3 separate regions of the Homo sapiens genome follow, and regions 1 and 3 are each linked to region 2. Evidence: promoter capture Hi-C in 16 types of primary human blood cells and fetal thymus (Javierre and others, 2016). All regions are on one chromosome and are shown on one strand. Each heading gives the region's core, a stretch centred on a gene start or on the middle of the fragment in contact. The rest is flanking DNA. Distances are from core to core; before and after follow the strand shown.

Evidence for each region. Contacts are between HindIII fragments. The CHiCAGO score rates a contact against its expected background, and 5 or more counts as called.
Region 1: a contact is called between a fragment that was not itself captured here and the fragment with the promoter of FBXL17 in region 2, in 1 of 17 cell types (monocytes). The highest score is 6.1, in monocytes.
Region 3: a fragment that was not itself captured here is called in contact with the fragment with the promoter of FBXL17 in region 2 in 3 of 17 cell types (total CD4 T cells, fetal thymus and naive B cells); the score reaches 6.9 in total CD4 T cells.

Annotation. Positions count from the first base shown.
Region 1 is chr5:110,727,914-110,730,613 of GRCh38, forward strand. It overlaps a transcript of TMEM232 not described here. Among named protein-coding and RNA genes, the nearest start is that of TMEM232, 2.6 kb to the left of the region's middle. The HindIII fragment of the contact is 1,678 bases long and covers 557-2,234 here.
Region 2 is chr5:108,380,791-108,383,490 of GRCh38, forward strand. FBXL17 (F-box and leucine rich repeat protein 17) reads right to left here and starts at 1,308. Exons shown (of 9, transcript NM_001163315.3): 1 at 1-1,308. The coding sequence starts at 901. RefSeq lists silencers at 159-238, 259-1,008, 1,209-1,458 and an enhancer at 1,559-1,678. The HindIII fragment of the contact is 13,285 bases long and covers 1-2,700 here.
Region 3 is chr5:110,744,793-110,747,492 of GRCh38, forward strand. It overlaps SLC25A46 (solute carrier family 25 member 46), which reads left to right. Exons shown (of 8, transcript NM_138773.4): 4 at 1,477-1,554. Among named protein-coding and RNA genes, the nearest start is that of SLC25A46, 7.1 kb to the left of the region's middle. The HindIII fragment of the contact is 6,336 bases long and covers 1-2,700 here.

The DNA of each region.
Region 1 (2,700 bases), core at 146-2,645, 2.3 Mb after region 2:
ATCCAGATAAAATAAAAATGAAAAGACTGTGGTATTTAATAATAGCCTGGGGGCTTGCTTGTTTTAATTTCAAGAGATCTAGAAAAGTGTTAAAAGCATAAAAAAATACAAACTGTTAACCAGGTTATTCATAATCAAATGAAGATTGAATTAAAAAGGAATAAAAGGAAGGCCGAATAAAAAATTCTTCTCCATAATATAAGAATCAGTTGAAACTATAGCATGTTTAGAGAAAAAAAGTCACCCCATCGATTCTACAGTGAAGACAACAGAACAAGTTTATATAAGGAAGAATTCACAAATACATATATATATATATTACACATATCTACTTATTCTAAATATATCTACTGATTTTATATATGTATCTACTGATTTTATTTATATATATATCAGTAGAATGAAAGATTACAGAAAAAGCATAAAATTTATATATGATAAATTTGCCATTTTAACTCAGTGGGGAAAAACTGTACAGAGGCTGAGCACAATTTGAAAGAAAATAAATCTGAACTACTATCTCATACCATAGCAACAATAAATCTCAGAGGAATGAAGCTTAAAACAGGAAATAATTTTAAATAATTTTAAGATAATATTGGTATAACCTTAGAGTCACAATAATATTAAGCTAATAGGAGACCCACAATGATTTTAAAAAATGACAAGAATATTTAGAAAATTTATGTAAGAAAAATAAATCTAATAAAGTCATACCTCCCCTTTCTCCCTTTAATTAGTCATCTACATTGAAGTTTTGACAAGACAAATCTAATTTTTTCAAATTATTATATATATACCTATATATATATAATCCTAAAATGGCCATTAATTAGCAATTAGGAAAATAAGCATGTCAAAACCATCCTAACCCCTTAGTATGGCACAATTATGCTTTCAGAAACTATATCATTGCCTACTTGCCCAGTTTTTTTCTGCTTTTTTTTTTTTTACCAGTCTTTTTTATTTTATTTTATTATTATTTTTTGAGATGAAGTCTCGCTTTTGTCCCCCAGGCTGGAGTGCAATGGAGCGATCTCAGCTCATTGCAACCTCCACCTCCTGGGTTCAAGCGATTCTCCTGCCTCAGCCTCCCGAGTACCTGGGATTACAGGCGCCTGCCACCACGCCTGGGTAATTTTTGTATTTTTGGTAGAGACAGGGTTTCACCATGTTGGCCAGGCTGATCTCGAACTCCTGACCTCAGGTAATCCACCCACCTTGGCATCCCAAAGTGCTGGGATTAAAGGCGTGAGCCACCGTGCCTGGCCCAGTCTTCTTTATTTTTAAAACTTTTTCCACTGCTATGTAATCAATTAAAAAATATTTTAAGTTTCCTAAACATATCATGAGCTCTCGTTTCTTAATAACCTCATGCATGCTCTTCCTCTGTCTGAAAATATACTTGCCCACTCACTCCTCAACTGCTGCCACAAACTCACACAAACGCATACCACCCCCTGCTCCCTAATAACCACACACCAGGTAAATGCTTACTCTTGATCAAGACTCGGATGTTAGACATTTGTCAACATTTTGGATCTGGAGAATCCAATCACCCTTCCATGCTACCTGGGGAATTCTTCATGTAATATGAATGGGAAGTGGTGTTTCATCATCCACTACAAAAGCCAAAAACGGCAGATTATATTTTCTCAGAACTCTGTGTTGGAATATGACAGAAGTTTGGCCAAGTATGTGTTCTAGTTTAAGAATTTGAATTTTTAGCAGATAATATCAAGATGAAAGTAGCAATAACTGTGCCTTGGGCCATGATAGCAGCACCCTTACAGATTTTCCTGCCAAAAGACAGTTGTGGTACCTCCTGCTTCTTGGTCCTCTAGAACAGCATTTTTTTTTCCTGTCCATTTCAATCCTTGACTTACAGCCTTCCATCAATTCTATAAACCCTGATTATCCTGTCAAATCTTCTGTTTAAAGTAACAAATTGAGTTTCTGTTATCTTCAACCAAAGTGACACATTCACCTGGGAAGACACCTCATTTTAGAAGCCTTCCAACGCAATGACTGTTCTCTCAGGATAACTTAGAAGACATCCTTCAATGTTTCCTTAGCATTCTGAGTGCTCTTATATAGCACTTATCAAAATTTTACCTAGAGAAATCTACCTAGTGAGTACTCATTAAAAAGTCAGGAAAGAGATGAAACTATTAGTAAGTTACACAATTTAAAATATGCATTATATTTTCTTCAATCATATTTCTCAAACCTTAAGCTTCAGTCCTCCAGTTGCTTGGAATCAAGGCTATTAGCATCTTCACTGACACGATTCAAATTAGTCCATAATACTGCAATTACCTTCCTAGATTAGAATTGATTTTCCAGGGAAAACAATCTGACACCAAAAGTGAATCATAGGAAAAAACTATAGCCATGAAAAAATATTTATCAGTTTGAACTGTTGCATTAGAATTAATATTGATTTTGTAATTTAACAACTTTCTAGATGACAATTTCTTAACTATTTTTGATATTATGTGATATCAGTTTAGTTTTGCCATGGAGTGTATAACTTAATTGTAAATAATTTCTATTTGATACTGTATTAGTTTGTTTTCATGCTGCTGATAAGTACATACCCAAAACTGGGAACAAAATGAGGTTTAATTGGACTTACAGTTCCACATGGCTAGGGAGGCCTCAGAATCATGGCGGGAGGTGAAAGGCACTTCTTACATG
Region 2 (2,700 bases), core at 58-2,557:
GACAGTCCGCGTCGCCACATTCATGCTGCTGCTGGGCGGACAAGGGGGCGGTGCCCCCGGCTCGGACAGCGTCCCCGCCAGCTTCGGTGGGGGCACCTTCGGAGGTGGGAGAAGAGGGCGGAGGGCAGAGCGGCTGCGGGGGCTGCTCCGGGGCCTGGCAGCAGCCGGCGTCGGGGGGCCGGGGCGGCGAAGCGCCTCCCCCCGCAGGCCCTCCCCCGCCACCGCCGCCGCCGCCGCCGCCGCAGCCCCCGCCGCCGCAGCGGGGCTGCTTGCAGGGGGTGCAGGCGGGGACCCCGGCCCCCTTCCGCTTGCACACCATTTCGGGGGGCGTAGGGAGCTCGGCCGGTGACGGTGTCGGCCCCCGGAAGAGCTGCACGGCGGCGGGCGGCCCCAGGAAGCGCACCGGCCCCAAGCTGGCCAGGAAGAGACTTCGGCCCTGCTGCTCCCAGGCGGCGGCCGCAGCCAGCCCCAACTCTTTGCAGCAGGAGGCGGGCGACGAAGCCGAGGCGGCAGCGGCGGCGGCGGCGGCGGCCGAGGATAGCAGGAAGCGGCGGGCAGCAGCGGCGCAGTCCTCGGCGGCCAGGGCCGCGTAGCGCCGCGCCAGGTGCTGAGAGGAGGAGGCGGCAGCGTAGGCCCCGTCCCGCGGCGGCGGCGAGAGCGGCGGCTCCTCCTCTGGGCCGGCGGGGGCGGGCGCGCCGGGACTGTGCACGATGAAGCAGAGCATGCAGGGCCCGCGGAAGAAGCAGTCCCGGCTCCGGGGCGCCGCCGGCTGAGGGGGCACCTTGGCTGGGGTCCGGCGGGGCAGCCTGAGGAGAGGGCGCCGGCGGCGGCACCAACTGCAACAGCGAGGCCTCTTCTGGCTCGGGCGGTTACGCGGCTCCTTCGAGAGAAGGTGGCCCATATAGAAGGCCCCGAGGAGGGGGACCGGGACGGGAGGGAGGGAGACCCAGAGAGGCGGGCTCCCGGCAGCGGGGCAGGCCGCTCGCTGGCTCGGCCCCCGGAGGGGTCGCCCTTCCTGCGCACACACACGCACACACGGGCACACACGCGACGGTGGGGGGTGGGCGTCAGCTGCGGGCCGCCGGAGTGCCCGACGGGGGCTACATGCTTTGCCCAGGGAAGCCGGGAGAACGATGGGCGCGAGCTTTGGGGACGCGAGGGAGGGAGCGAGCGAGCCTGCCGGCTAGGCGACCAGTCCGGGCCCGGCCAGCCGGCTCAGTCAGTCAGCGGAGCGGCCGGGGAAAGGCCGGGTCCCGCTCGGACCATTTTAACTGCGGATCCGCCGCCGGCGCGCGCACCCGCGACTCTGCTCGGAGCCGCAGGAGCGCGCGGCCCGTTCCGGCAGGGGGCGGAGCCAGTTGCGGTGGCGCGCTCGTGGCGGGGACGCCGGCACCCGGCTGCTCACCCGGGACGGCCGTCACACCGGCACTACGGGAAGAAGCCGGCCGGCTAGGGCACGGAGCTCTGGGCTTGCGGGGTGCGGCGCACGCCCCTCCCTCCCACCGCCTAAGGTTTTTCCGAAGCTGCTGGGCGTGCGCCGCGTTTCTGAGGCGGGAGGAGACACTTCCGAGCCAGCTGTGTGACATCCGTTTACACAGCCGCGCTGACGTCTCGAGGTGTAAGTTCAAGAGCTGCCATTGGCCGGGAGCCGCTGGGCTCTTCCCCTCACCTTCCACCCCTGTCACCACCCCTGACTCGGAAACCGAGGCCACTTCGAAGCCGCGAGGCGGGTTCCGCCGGAAGGGCCAGTGTGGGCGCTGACCGCGCTTCGGGCAGAGTGGCAGATGCGGCCCCTGGGTGATGCGCACCGAAGTCATGTGAGGGGTTGATTGGTTGTGCGGCACCACTGTTTACCCACTTGTGTTTTCTTAATTGTTGCGTACTACTGCCTTTCCACAACTTTATTTCAGAATGAAAGCATATATCAAATTACCTGTGCACAGCAGAAAGATAACAGCTTCCCCACCCAGTGAGCCATTCAACACCCAGGCTACAAACTGTAGATCACTTTATTGTCTACACCCTCGGAATCCTGTCTAGCCGTCTGTTGTATATTTTAAACATGACGGTGCAGTGCCTGCTATATGACAAACGTTGGTGATCCAGATGAGAAAGAGGAAACAGCTATGCAGGCAGTCCTTTAGAAGGTTTGACTATATCGAGGCTAAAGAGCTAGGGCAGCTGCTAGAGCGGTACCTGGTGCGGAGAGGTTAGCTTTCACAAGCGAAAAATTAGAGGAGGCAAATACCATGGGAATGAGCCACTCTAGTGAGAGAAATAAGAGGAGAAGGTGGAATGGAGAGTGCTTTAGGAAGGATACTTTCTTCATTGTGATTACAGAGAATGAGGAAAGGTAGATAAAGGACGGATACAGAGAGGTGGATGTTTCTAGCAGGAAGGTGAAAGAGTTCCTTTCTGTTGGTTTCTGTTTTGCTTCAGATAGAGCTTGGTTACCTGCTGAAGGGTGGAAGAGAAGTGGCAGGTGTTTAAAAAAAAATCTGCTAAGGATAACTTGAGAGAGCTGACTGAGGAAGAAGTATTGCAATATTCAAGGCCCAGTGGCTTGGAGAAGACCACTGTTGGAACCTACATTGCTATTCCCACTATAGTGGCCAGCCCCACCCAGCCTGCTCTCAAACATGCTGTCAAACAATTGTTAATTCTGGCCTTTTTGTCAGAAATGACCAATCTTAAGTCTGT
Region 3 (2,700 bases), core at 191-2,690, 2.4 Mb after region 2:
GTTCCGTGAAAAAAGTGGCTAGTTTAGCTTGCAGTTCTATCATACAAGTGCTTTCCTCATGACAGCAATCTTACTTCCTTATGTAACACACAGGATATTAATTAGAAAGAGGATGTGTACTCAAAGGTCAAGGATTCATAAAATTAACATTTTGTTACTTCATTGTCAAGGATATTACTATATGAAGGTTGCTTTTTTCTCTCTATGGGTAAATGAGGTGAAAAATTACTGTAAGTACGAAAATACAGTTTGATGGTGCTGCCTCAATTTGTGCTAATGAGCTGGGAGTTTTACCTACCATTGCTTTTGTACCATTAGTGAAAATGTCAAGACAGTGAAAAAAGGAAATTATATCTTAGTAATCACTAGGAAAATAATTTTGAACTTGTCAAGCCCCTGAAAGGGTAATGGGGCCCTCAGGAGTCAGTGGACCCCACTTGCAAACTCTGTTATAACCCACTTTTTTTTTTTGTTTGTTTGAGACGGAGTCTCGCTCTGTTGCCCAAACTGGAGTGCAGTGGCATGATCTCGGCTCACTGCAAACTCCGCCTCCTGGGTTCACGCCATTCTCCTGCCTCAGCCTCCCGAGTAGCTGGGACTACAGGAGCCCGCCACCGTGCCCAGCTAATTTTTTGTATTTTTAGTAGAGACGGGGTTTCATCGTGTTAGCCAGGATGGTCTCGATCTCCTGACCTCATGATCCGCCCGCCTCAGCCTCCCAAAGTGGTGGGATTACAGGTGTGAGCCACTGCGCCCGTCCTGTTATAACCCACTTTCTCTGTAAAGTAATGCTTCCTGTATTTGTTAGCTGTTAGAGTTCAAAACAGTATAAATCATTATAAATTAATCTGTTCATGCTTAGCACTGAAAAGTATGTATACAGAAATACCATTAAAGTAGCATTGACTGTATGTGCCACAGAACAGTGTATTTCAGATATATATTTTACATTGTAGTAATATTAACATGGAGATCCAATGGATACATTACATATAAGTAACAAATATATTATTTTTAAATGTTTTATGAAATAATACCATTAGAATGTAATACATTCTAATATTTTATTGTTTCACATAATAAATATTGTTTTGACACTCCCCCAGTTGATTTCATATACCAGTCAGTTGCCAAGTACAGTTTGAAAAATGCTTGCCTAAAATGAACATGAGTTGGGAGATGTAATTCAGTTGTTTAAGGCAAACCAAATATCAAATAAGACCCTCTTTATTATATAGTCTACAGTACTGTGTGTATTATGCATTGGTCTTCAGATTGTATTTATATAACCATACATACTGTACTTTTAATAGGTTATTTAAAGCACTTTTAAGAGTAATTTTGCTTATGTGTAATTTATGTTGACTTTGGAATTAACTTTTGTTTATACTGCAATTCCACCATATTTCTTTCATGGCTCTGTTATTTCTTGACAAAACATTAACAGAAAAAAATAATGAAATATCTTTTTTACAGGTTAATTACCATGCTCAGCATTACCATCTCACTCCATTTACAGTCATCAATATTATGTACAGTTTCAACAAAACTCAGGTGAGAATTTTGTCTGGATTCTATTAAAGGTTTATATAAGTGTCATTTGGGTTTAGTAATCATTAAAGCAAGAATAATTACTTTCAGTTTGGTCAATAAAACATCTTAACTGTTGTAGTAAAACTAAAGTAGCACAACGATATGTTTTTGAATCTTTCAAAATGTAATTTAGCAAAAGTACAATTTAATTTAGCAAAACCACAAAGAGCTGTGCTAAGATGATGTCTCTGCTATCAAGAGGCTCATATTTATTCATGGAGACAAAATCTTTGAAGATTGTGCTGCAGTAAGATAAAGGCAATATTAGAAGTACAGAATGCTGTCAGAATACAAAAGAGAAGTACCTTATCAAAACTGGGCTTGGGCACAGTGTATGGCTGGGAAAAACTTTGGGAAAAGAAAGGCCCGAATTGTGTGCTTCTTGTTGAGAAGTCTGACTCTTCATGATGAGGATAGAGAAAAGGTTTTTAAAGTAGACGTGTGAAGGCAGAAGACAAAGAGAGATCATAATGTTTGGGAATGGATTTAATGGAGTACAATGGGAGCTTGAAGTGGGGGTTGAAGAGTAAGAGAAAGATGAAAAAGTAGCCAGAGAAGTAAGCAGGATCCAGATTCTAAAGCACCTTCTAAGAACTGCACACTACTAGATCTTAAAAGCTACAAGAGTACTGTTGAAGGTGTTTTAGCCATGACCAAAATATCTTGAAGACCTTTGGATTGTTTGGCAATATCTATTAAAATTTAAAATGTACATGTTCTTTCACTTCCAGGAACTTATCCCACATAGATGTGCACATATATATGCAAAAATATATATACAAGGATGTCCTATGACATTGCATATAATAGACTGGAAATGATTAAATGTCCATCACTAGGGTACCAGTGAAATAATTATGGTATATTATGGTGAAACACCTTGTAACCTTTAAAAATAAGAGGGTAGCTCTGTGTATACTAATGTGGAATGATCTCCAGGATATTTTTTATGTTTCAAGATAATACTACCTGTTAAAAATAAGCAAAACAAAAATATTTCTATAACATACACACACAGATATACTTGTATATGCATGGATTATCCCGATAAATTTTAAAACTGCTGCTGAGGACTGGGATGAAAAGGAGACAGACTTTTCAGCTGAT